Linked DNA regions of Homo sapiens: region 1 is linked to region 2. Evidence: promoter capture Hi-C in human tissues and cell types (Jung and others, 2019). All regions are on one chromosome and are shown on one strand. The core of a region is centred on a gene start or on the middle of the fragment in contact, and the rest is flanking DNA. Distances in the headings are between cores, read along the strand shown. Region 1 overlaps RABGAP1 (RAB GTPase activating protein 1). Region 2 holds the start of ZBTB26 (zinc finger and BTB domain containing 26).

Region 1 (5,772 bases), core at 449-2,948, 130 kb after region 2:
AATGGTAAAATTCTTCTTTTTCCTTCCAGTATTATTGTTACAAAAAAGCAAAACAATTTTATTAAAATAAGAAAACAAAAAGGTTTTATTATACTAAGAAAGCCAAAAGTTAGATTTTTTTTTTTTCCTTTTAAAATGCAGTAAGGTATATCATTGATTTTAGGTTATGTTTGGGAAAGAGATTTGGATTTTAGCATGAGGCGTTAATTCTCAGTATTTGTTTAGTGAATAAATTTAAGAAGTGCTGATATTTTACAGTATAGTTTTAAATAGAATTACTTCCAACAATGCCCAAATTGTGCCATGCCAGTCACCCCTTTTTCTCTTGAAGTTTTCAAAGAAATATAAACACAAGGAAGAGTGACAAGTGGAAAACAAGGTTTAATTTGTTAACTGGGAGCCACCAGCAGCACATTGGACTTGAATATATGTCTGGGTTTAAAGGCCTTTCTCTTTGTAATGCTCCAGTCTTCCCCCAGCATGCCCCAGATACTCAGGATATTGCAGCATGCATTTGAGAGAGAACAAAATGTCCTGGGTGCCTTTGTCAGCAGTGACCCTACTTACTACATGGTTCAAGTGGTATTCTGAAATCAGATTAGTGTTCAGTCTACTTGTGAAGTGGTCAGTATGAAGGAGAAGGCATGGACCTCCTCCTGTATACATAGTAATAATGACTCATAAAAGTTTATGACCAGCAAAATGATCTGATTGGTCCATGCATTTCAGAAAAATTAATCAGACACGGTTGTGCCAGTAGAAGTAAAGAGATAAAGGAAGATCAGTGTTATGGTCTGAATGTTTATGTCCCCCCAAAATTCATATGTTAAAACCTAACCATGGCTAGGCAAGGTGGCTCACACCTGTAATCCCAGCACTTTGGGAGGCCGAGGCGGGCGGATCACGAGGTCAGGAGATCGAGACCATCCTGACTAACACAGTGAAACCCCGTCTCTACTAAATAATTAAAAAAATTAGCCAGGCGTGGTGGCGGGCACCTGTAGTCCCAGCTACTCAGGAGGCTGAGGCAGGAGAATGGCGTGAACCCGGGAGGCGGAGGTTGCGGTGAGGCGAGATTGCGCCACTGCACTCCAGCCTGGGTGACAGAGCGATACTCCGTCTCAAAATAAATAAAAATTAAAAAACAAAAACAAAAAAAACTAATCACTAATGTGATGCTGTTAGGAGATGGGGCCTTTGGGAGGTGATTAGGTCATGAGGGCAAAGTCCTTATGCATGGGATTTGTGCTCTTATAAAGAAGAGACCTAGAGAGCTGCCCTGCCCCATATGAGAACACAGCAAGCACATGCCACCTATGAGCTGCAAAGCGACCCTTCACCAAACACTGAATTTTCCAGCATCTTGATCTTGGAATTTCCAGCCTCCCAGACTGTAAAAACAATTCCTGTTGTTTATAAGCCACCCAGTTTGTAATATTTTGTTAGAGTAGCCCAAAGCGACTAAGACAATCATTTAGGCTGTTATATTAGTCTTGGTAAGATGAAGCATGGGTCTGCCTTTGGGTGATGCACTAGAAGTGGAAAGGAAGAGACAGAATCCAGACTCTGCAGAAAGATCTCCAGATCAGTGATGATTCATGGTAGCTAGAATCAGAAACAAGGTGGTAAAACCTGCTGCCATTCACAAGAATAGAGAACTGTTGAGAAATGTTGGTGGAGGGAGGTGGGGAATGTGAGATTACAGTTTTTGTGAGTGTAGTATAATTTACATACAATAAACATACACCTTATGTGTTCATTTTGATGAGTTTTGACAATTTCTTATATTTGTGTAAACACCAAAGAAAATATAAACATTTCTGTCATCTCAGAAAGTTCCCTTATGCCCCTTTTCAGTTGATTTCCCTCCCACCCCCAGGTAACCATTTCGGTTTCTGTCACCATGGGCTTTTGCTCAACATAATGTTTTTGAGATTTATTTGTGTTGTTTCATGTATTAGAGGTTCATTTGTATTGCTGGGTAGTATTCCATTAGATGGATATACCATAATTTATCACTTTTTCTGTAGATGGACATTTGAGGTTTCTAGTTGGGCTATTACACATGAGGGTATTAGGAATGGAATTGCTGGGTCATGGTAGTTAGGTATATATTTAACTTTCTGGGAAACTGCCATGTTCTTTACCAAAGTGGTTATATCATTTACACACCCATTAGCAACCATTGAGAGTTCCAGTAATTTCATATTCTCACCAACATTTGGTATTTTTATTTTAGCCAGTCTCATGTGTGTCAGTTTGTGTTTATAATTTGTGAGCTGTATATACTGTTTATTTTGCTGCTTGAAATGTCAGGGACTATATACCACTACAATTACAGGGTTTTATTGAAACGTGTACTACACTGCATAGACAGGAATATACAGACTTTTGCAAAATGCAGCAAACATTTTTAACATTTGTTATTATGTGAAAAAAGTACAAAAGTGTTCAAAGAGATATACATTTCAAGTTGTAGCAGGTTGTGACAAAGTTTCTGAGGGCAAAGCATGTATAAAATTAATAACATGTTAGTATATTTAAAATCATAACAAAAATCTTCTCTCTGGTCATGCTGACCATAACAAATTACTGTGTTGTAGTATACTTATAACAAGGGTTAACAAACTACCACCTCAGGGCCAGGTTCAGTTTGCCTCTCACTTTTGTTTATTCATTTTTGTTGTTGTTGTTATTGTTGTATAAGACAGGCTCTCTCTCTTACTGCCCAGGCTGGAGCACAGTGGCACAGTCTTGGCTCACTGCAACCTCTACCTCCTGGGCTCAAGGGATCCTCTTGCTTCAGCCTCCCGAATAGCTAAGACAGGTGTATGCCAGCACGCCCGGCTAATTTTTGTATTTTTGTAGAGATGAGATTTTGCCATGTTGCCCAGGCTGGTCTCAATCTCCTGGGCTCAAGTGGTTTACTCGCCTCGGCCTCCCAAAGTGCTAGGATTACAGGCATGAGCTACTGCGCCTGGCATGCGCTTGCTTTTATAAATAAAGTTTTGTTAGGACACAGCAGTGCTTGTTTATTTACATATTGTCTATGGCTGCTCTACAAGGGAAGAGTTGAATAACTGCAGCACTGAATGGCTTGCAAAGCCAAAAATTTTTACCTGACCCTTTATAGAAGAAGTTTGCAAGATGGCAATAGTGCATAATCCTATTGCATTTTTGTTTTCTTCTGGAAATTAAGGGTGTTTTTCTTGGGATAAATGAATTAGCCAAAACACAAAACCAGTTGATCAAACAAAACAAAACAAAACAAAACAACCCACCTCTCTTATAACAGCAGTAATTTTCAGAACGTAACAACTGACAATACTTTTGCCATTCATTCCGTGTTCTTTTAAAGTCACCATCTGTGCACTGTTGCCGTAAGTACATTTATAAAAACTTGTCTGTTAAGCCATTATACTAACTACAGCCTCCTTAAGAGGATGTATTTGGTTGACTTGATCAGTTTGGCCACGAATAGTGTTACATGTGTTGCATTGGCAGGCTCTCTACATCAGTTACATTTATGTTTAACTCCTTAGAAATAAAAGGAATATGGCCGGGTGTGGTAGCTTACAGCTGTAATCCCAACACTTTGGGAGGTCAAGGCGTGCGCATCACCTGAGGTCAGTTGAAAACCAGCCTGACCAACGTGGAGAAAACCCGTCTCTACTAAAAATACAAAAATTAGCCAGGCGTGGTGGCACATGCCTGTAATCCCAGCTACTTGGGAGGCTGAGGCAGGAGAATCGCTTGAATCAGGGAGGCGGAGGTTGCGGTGAGCCAAGATTGCTCCATTGTACTCCAGCCTGGGCGACAAGAGCGAAACAAGAAAGAAAAGGAATATATATTGTTGTATAAAGCTTAATTTTGTAAGCACTTGCTTTGACTATTTTGAAAAGCTCTTTGCTTTTTTTCTCTTAGGGGATCATCCATAATGTTGCTGTGTTTTATTTTCAGAACCTTTTCAAATTTAATGTCATTCTGATAGGAACTTACTAAACTCATCATTATTAGAATTTCTGCATCACTTTTGCATGATGTGGCCTCCAGCAAGTCAAATGAATTTATTCCAAGTTCTTCAGCATATTTCCTTAAGGCCAAATATTTTAAGCAAATGATTCACATGGAACTCCTCAATTTATTATCATTCTTGAAGGCATCAAAAATTGAGTGTGAATTTTCAAAATGACCTTCTTTTAAGGGCATTTTGCCCCTTCATTCTCTGATAATTCCATGATTAATGGATATGGGATGGCAAATTGACAAGAACTGGCCCAGTTATAGAGAGTACTTTCAGTTTTTTGTTATTTTTTACGTCCTGTGTACAGTTGAATTTCTAAATCTCGTCTCCTCTCTCTCTCTTTTTTTTAATTGAGACAGGTCTCGCTGTGTCGCCCAGGCTGGAGTGCAGTGCCACGATGTTGGCTCACTATAGCCTCTGCTTCACTGGCTCAAGCGATTCTCATGCCTCAGCCTTCCAAGTAGCTGGGATTACAGGCACCTGCCACCATGCCTGGCTAATTTTTGTATTTGTAGTCAGAGACAGGGTTTCACCATGTTGCCAGGCTGGTCTCAAACTCCTGGCCTCAAGTGACCCACCTGTCTCAGCCTCTGAAAGTGCTGGGATTACAGGCATAAGCTACCATGCCCAGCCCAAATCTCATATCTCTAATAACTGTATCCTTTTTCAGGTTGTCATCTCCGTAATCAGTGTGATATGATTGATGTAACTGGTGTAAAATATTTTGAACGTTTCCATATTCCTCTCCATTCTCAATTTAATTTCCTAACCTTCGTAGTTGTCTTAAACCACAGTTTATCATTCTTAGCATTTTTTAGAGCTTCTGTTGTTGTTTTATAGAATTCCTAAATTCATCTGATTCTCTCTGGATTGTTTCCAGTTTTGGCTGTTAGGAATAAAGCTTCTGTAAACATTTGAGTTTAAGTCTTTTCATGCATTTATATGTTCAGTTCTCTTTGGTAAATACCTAGGAATGGAATCACTGGGTTGTATGGTAATTATGTGTTTACTATTGTAAGAAACCACCAAACTGTTTACAAAGTGTTTGTACCATTTTGCATTGTATAGGAGTTCCAGTTGTTTCTTATCCTTTGCCAACACTTCTTAATTTTAGCATTTTGTAGATATGTAGTGGAATCTCATTGTGGTTTTAATTTGCACTGCCCTGAGGGCTAGTAATGTTGACATCTTTTCAAGTGCTTATTTGCCATGTGTTATATCTTCCTTAATGAAACACCTCAATCATTTACACATTCCCACTTTAAAAAATTAATTGTCTTTCTCATTAATTTGGAGAGTTATATATTCTGGATACAACTCCAACTTTATTATCAGATATGTTTTGTAGGCATTGTGTCCTGGCCTGTGACTTACCTTTTCATATTTTAAACAGTTTTTTGAATAGTAAGATTTTTAAATTTTGATGAAGTGTCCAGCTTGTCGTTTATTTATAATTCATATCTCATAGCGACCCCTCTTCTAACTCTTCAGCTCTCTGTTCAGCATATTCCTCACTAGCACTCTACCCTACAATTCTAGCTACCTTGCCCGCCCCAAAATTTGTGTGCGTGCTCTCTCACTCGCTCTCACTCTCACTCTCGCTCACTTCGCTCGCTCTCTCATTTTCTCACTCTCGCTTGCTCTCCCTCTCTCTCCCACTTTCTCAACTTTTGAAGATACCTCCAACGCGGAGCTCTAATTCAGTCTGGAAGCTGCCACCATGTAATTAGCTGCTGTAGTCATAGATC
Region 2 (6,366 bases), core at 409-2,908:
TCTGCATGAATTGATCCAGTGGTCTCTCCTCGAAATTCCCTTCTCTTGATTTCTGGGTCTTCTTGCTTGCTGTAACCCTGCACTCCTACACTTTATTGCCTACTGCTGACTACTACTAGCTCCAATTCCTCTTTCTGCTTCATAAATGCAAGCATTACCCTCCCCCCCCAAATTTCCTTATTTTTCAAAATTCTCTTCCTGATGCCAGCTATTGCCATGGTTTCCACTTCTATGCTGATAACTCAAACTTTTACCTCTAGCTACAATGTTTAGGCTGAGCTAAAGATTTGCATTTCCAACTCCATGCTGGACAGCTCTATGTGTCTGTCTCATTAGACCTTTAATTCAACATGTCCAAAAAATGAATTCATAATCTACACTAAGCTTATGGCTTTATTTCTGATAATGGCATTACCATCCTTCAGCTCAGAGGTCTAAAACCTAAGAATTAGATTTGGTCCCTCACACTTCTTCAGCATTCAGTTAATTATGGAGTCTTGACATAATCATCTCCAGTATATTTGTCTCCTTACCAATGACACCATTATAACTTATTTCAGGAATTTTTTGCCTCTCACTAGGCTGATCCCATTACCCCTTCAAAAGAATCTCCGATAAGCGTTCCTAACTTTTAGCTAAATGTCTAAATGCAGTTAATAGAAAGTCCCTTCTCTATGGGCTTTCTACAGAACAAAATGATTTCCTGCAGTGCAAATCTGACCATATCAATATTCTGTTCCGAACTCTTCAAAAAACTACCCATCTCCTTTAGGATTACACCATTCACCATCTGGACCTCGGTCGACTTTCCCAGTCTCATATCCATTCTGTGCATAGGAGTCCCCCCATTTCCTCCTCTTCCCACACAAGTTATGCTCAGTCATTTCTCCACAGTATTGCAACTGTCTTCCCTGAAAAACTCTTCAACACTTTACTCTCTCCAAGTACAATTCAGACATCACTTTCTTTCTAAAGCCTTCTCAGCAACGGCCCCTTGAGCAATTAACACATATGTGACTGATACATACATACATATATATACACATAGGAGTACTTATTTGTTCAGATCTGGCTCCCAAACTTAATCCCGAAAACTGGAACAATATCTTGCCAATCTCCAGTGTCTGGTATAGCGCCAGTAATATAAAAGGTGCTGCGACCAGTGGCCAAATAGGGGAAAACCCCAGCAAAAGGGTAACCTAGCACTCACAGTGGTTCTCAAAGACTGGCACTGAATGCCTGGTCTTGGGCTGGCTCCCGAGGCTCGTTTTCTTAGGGCCTCACCTCTGGCACTTCTTATAAGATGCCAGAGTCAGGCCCCCAAGCCAACTGCTGGGCCCTCAGCTGGGGTCCTATGAGGCGGTCCCAGGGGCATCCTCAGGCTCCCCACTCCAGTCACAGGGAAGGGAAAGGGGCGGGGCGCAGCGTGGGCCGGGCCAAGGGCTCCTCAAGTCCCCAGGGGCCTAGGCCAGCCTCTCGGCTCCCATCCCAGTGCAGGTCCCGGTTGATCCAGGGCCCCAGGGGGGTTCCATTTTGAGACACCCCGCACCCCAGCCCGCCGCTCCGGCCGTCTCCGCACTTACAGACCCGGGGGAAGGCCGCCGTCAGGATCCGGCACCGCCAGGAGCTCCGGCCCCTCGGGGCTCCGGGAAGGGGGAGGGGCAAGGAACCCGAGCCAAAGGGGGACCCAACGGAACCGGAAGGGCAGCCCTGGCCGGACAAAGACAACTTCCAGGTCCCATGGTCCTCTCCGCCAATCGGAAGGCTCGGAGGACAACAGGGGCCCCGAGAGGGAATTTCTGCGTTGTGGGCGGGGCGCAGACGGAGGGCACCGTACTCTGGGCACTAGCTTCACTGCCTACTACCCCGAGGTGCCTTAGCTCGTAAGCGTCTGTGGCTCAGGCCCTGTGCGCCTCGCAGGGACCCGCTGCTCGGGACCCCCGTCTCAGCGGCTCTTCTGTAGCTGGGCCTAGACGGTCCGCTGCCTCCTTGGGCCTGAAGGGCTCCTCTGCACTTAAACTTTGGTAAGTCTTTTTAGCCTAGGGGTGTAGACTCGTCGCGCGGGAGCCCGAAGAGCAGAAAGCTCTCCCCTCACTTTTGGATGTGTTTTTCAGGGTTCTTGCCTTGGAGTTCTTCCTAGGGCAAACTCTTGCACTCCCATGGCTTCCGTTACCTACTTCATGCTGACCATTCACAACCCAGGCAGCTACATGGACGAGATCTCCAGCTGTCCTGATGTGAAAGTACCTTTTAATGATCTCAAGTTCATCTCATCTCCTATCCAGACCGGAAAACTTGAGGATCCTTCTAGAGTTCTTTTCCTTGCCAATCCAGTTTACTGGTTTTTGACCATTCTTTTCGTTTTTGGTGGTGGTGAGGGGCTTTTTATTGAGGTAAAACATGCGTAATGTTTATTACTTTAATCATTTGTAAGTGTAAAACTTGATGGTCTTGAACTCTGGAGTTAAAGTGATCCACCCTCCTCAGCCTCCCAAAGTGCTGGGATTACATGTGTGAGCCACTGCTCCCAGCCTTTCCCTCTTTTTAATGTAGTTATTTACAACTATACATTTCACTTTGATCACTGTTTTCACTACAGCTCATAAGTTTTTGTATGTTGTGTTATTTTCATTCATTTCTAAGTATTTTCTAATTTCCCTTTTGATTTCTTCTTCTTTTTTTTTCTTTTTTTTGAGATGGAGTTTCGCTCTTGTTGCCCAGGCTGGAGTGCAATGGTGTGATCTCGGCTCACCGCAACCTCCGCCTCCTGGGTTCAAGCGGTTCTCCTGCCTCCGTCTCTAAAGTAGCTGGGATTACAGGCATGCGCCACCACACCGGGCTAATTTGATATTTAGAGATATGGAGACGTGGTTTCTCCGTGTTGGTCAGGCTGGTGTCGAACTCCCGACCTCAGGTGATCCACCCGCCTTGGCCTCCCAAAGTGCTGGGATTACAGGTGTGAGCCACCGTGCCTGACCTTGATTTCTTCTTTGACCCAGTTGTTAAGAGTGTTGTTTAACTTTCAGATATTTGTGACTTTTCCAGTTTTCCTTCTGTTATTAATTTATAACTTCATCTGTGTGGTCCGAGAAGATACTTTGTATGATATCTATCTTGTAAAATATTATGAAACTTGAATTGTGGCATACAGTCTGGTGAATACCTCATGTGCTTTAGAGAAGAATGTGTATTCTGCTCTTGCTGGGTGGAATGTTCTGTATATGTCTTTTAAGTATAGCTGGTTTATTATGATGCTTAGTTCCTCTATTTCCTCACTTATCTTCTATCTGATTCTTCTCCCCGTTACTGAAAATGGGGTATTGTAGTCTCCCACTATTATTGTAGAACTGTTTATTTCTCCTTTTAATTCTGTCCATTTTTGCTTCATGTATTTTGAGAGTCTGTTCCTAGCGAGGTAAATGCCTATAATTTTTATATAATCTTGTTGTAATGAGCCTTTTATTAATATATAATGTCTTTGTCTCTTATAACCTTTTCAAATTTTAAAATCTATTTTGTCTAATGGTAGTATAACTACATCAGCTCTTTTTCAGTAACTATTTGCATGTTATATCTTTTTTCATTAAATTATTATTATTATTATTATTATTATTATTTGCGAGGGAGTCTCACTGTGTCACCCAGGCTGGAGTGCAGTGGTGCCATCTCAGCTCACTGCCACCTTCGCCTCCCGGGTTCAAGTGATTCTCCTGCCTCAGCTCTGGAGTAGCTGGGATTATGGGCGCCTGCCACCATGCCCAGCTACTTTTTGTAAATTATTATTATTTTCTGTGACAGAGTCTTGCTCTGTCGCCCAGGCTGAAGTGCAGTGGCAATCTCGGCTCACTGCAACCTCCACCTCCTGGGTTCAAGCCATTCTCCTGCCTCAGCCTCCCAAGTAGCTGGGATTACAGGTGCACGCCACCATGCCCAGTTAATTTTTGTATTTTTAGTAGAGATGGGGTTTTACCATGTTGGCCAGGCTGGTCTCAAACTCCTGACCTCCCACCTCGGCCTCCCAAAGTGCTGGGACTACAGGCGTGAGCCACTGTGTCCAGCCCTTTTTCCTTGAATTATTGAAAAAAAAATTTTTTTGTAGAGACCGCGCCTTGCTATGTTCCTCAGGCTGCTCTTGGACTCCTGGCCTCAAGCTATCTTTGGTCTCCCAAAGTACTGCGGTTGTAAGCCACTGTACCTGGCCCTTTTCCTAACCTTTTCTTTTCTTTTCTTTTTTTTTTTTTTGAGACAGAGTCTCGCTCTGTCACCCAGGCTGGAGTGCAGTGGCGTGATCTCGGCTCACTGCAAGCTCCGCCTCCCGGGTTCACGCCATTCTCCTGCCTCAGCCTCCCGAGTAGCTGGGACTACAGGTGCGTGCCACCACACCCGGCTAATTTTTTTGTATTTTTAGTAGAGACAGGGTTTCACCATGTTAGCTAGGATGGTCTCGATCTCCTGACCTCATGATCCGCCCACCTCAGCCTCCCAAAGTGCTGGGATTACAGGCGTGAGCCACCACGCCCGGCCTCTAACCTTTTATTTTCAATCTATTTGTGTCTTTGGATGTCAAGTGATTCTCTTGTAGACAGCATTTAGTTGGAGCATGTGGATTGTGTGTGTGTGTTTAAAATTAATTTTCCCTTTCTTTTTAAAAATTAAATATATTTTTAGAGACAGGGTCTCACTCTGTTGCCCAGGCTGGATTGTAGTGGCATGATCACAGCTCACTGAAGCTGGAACTCCTGAGCTCAAGTGGTCTTCTCGCCTCAGCCTCTCAAAGTAGCTGGGACTACAGGTGTGCAACACCACACTTGACGCCTTTATTTTATTTTATTTTATTTTATTTTTTGAGACAGAGTCTCACTCTGTTGCCCAGGCTGGAGTGCAGTGGCGCAGTCTTGGCTCACCGCAGTCTCTGTCTCATGGGTTGAAGCGATTCTCTTTCTCAGCCTCCAGAGTAGCTGGGACCACAGGCATGCGGTCCCATCAAGCAATCCGCCTGCGTTGACCTTCCAGAGTGCTGGGATTATAGGCATGAGCCACTGTGCCCGGACTTGACTCCTTTCTGTCTTTAGATTGGAGAGTTTAACCTTGACTCCTTTCTGTCTTTAGATTGGAGAGTTTAAACCATTTAGATTTAAAGTAATTATTGATAAGGTGGGATTTATATCTGTCACTTCTCTATTTGTGTTTTATATGCTTTTTAAATCTTCATTTCTGCCATTACTGCTTTTTTGTGTTAGTGTTAGTTGATTTTTTTATCATGAAACGTTTGATTCCCCTCTCATTTCCTTTTGTGTATATTCTATAGATATTTTATTGGTGGTTACCATAGGTATTACACTCAACATCCAAAAGTTATAACAATCTAATTTGAATTGATACCAATTAACTTCAATATCATACAAAAACTCTGCTCATGTAAAGCTCTGCCCTTTCCTTTCTGTTACTGATGTCACAGATAACATTTTATACATTGTATATCCAATAACATAATTTTTTTTTTTGAGACAGTCTCGCTCTGTCACCCAGGCTGGAGTGCAATGGTGCAATCTCAGCTCACTGCAACCTCTGCCTCCCGGGTTCAATTGATTCTCCTGCCTCAGCCTCCCGAGTAGCTGGGATTATAGGCACCCACCACCACGCCCAGCTAATTTGTTTCTATTCTTAGTAGAGATGGAGTTTCACCAATATTGGTCAGGCTGGTCTCAAACTTCTGACCTCAGGTGATCCACCCACCTCGGCCTCCCAAAATGCTGGGATTACAGACATGAGCCACCACGCCCAGACAACATAAATATTTTTTATGCATTTCACTTTTAAATCAGAGAAAATAAAAAGTGGAGTTACAAATCATAATTATAATAATTGCTTTTATAGTTGCCAGTGTATTTGACTTACTAGAGATCTTTGTTTCTCTGTATGGCTTTGAGTTACTATTGAGTGTACTTGCACTTCAAAATGTCGGTTTCTCTTTAGCATTTCTTGAAGGGCAGGAATGCTGGTGGTAACGAACTCCCTTGGCTTGTCTTTATCAGGGAATGTCTTAACTTCACCCTCATTTTTGAAGAACAATTTTGCCAGATATAGATTTTTCCATGACAGTTTTTTTTTTCTTTCTTTCGAGCCTCTGAGGATTCTTTATTGGGTGATAATCTTATTGCAATCCTTTGTATGGGACAAGTTGCTCATCTCTGGCTGCTTTCAGGATTCTCTTTTTTTTTGGCTTTTCACAGCTTAATTATAATATATTTGGTGGTTTCTTAGTATTTCCTATCAGGAGTCTGATAAGCTTCTTGGATTTGTATATCATGTTGTTAATAGAGTTTGGAGAGTTTTGACCATGATTTCTTGCAATATTATTTCTGC

What was found. The method cuts DNA at HindIII sites, captures the fragments that hold promoters and counts their contacts. A contact is called where the count stands out against the background at its distance.
Region 1: a contact is called between a fragment that was not itself captured here and the fragment with the promoter of ZBTB26 in region 2, in 1 of the 25 tissues and cell types used here (IMR-90 fibroblasts).

The regions. Positions count from the first base shown.
Region 1 is chr9:123,058,432-123,064,203 of GRCh38, forward strand. The region is part of intron 13 of RABGAP1 (RAB GTPase activating protein 1); the gene reads left to right. It also overlaps the pseudogene LOC100422501. Among named protein-coding and RNA genes, the nearest start is that of GPR21, 28 kb to the left of the region's middle. The HindIII fragment of the contact is 5,392 bases long and covers 1-4,394 here.
Region 2 is chr9:122,929,854-122,936,219 of GRCh38, forward strand. It overlaps ZBTB26 (zinc finger and BTB domain containing 26), which reads right to left and starts at 1,659. Exons shown (of 2, transcript NM_020924.4): 1 at 1,584-1,659. It also overlaps a transcript of RABGAP1 not described here. RefSeq lists a silencer at 1,431-1,770. The HindIII fragment of the contact is 7,569 bases long and covers 1-6,366 here.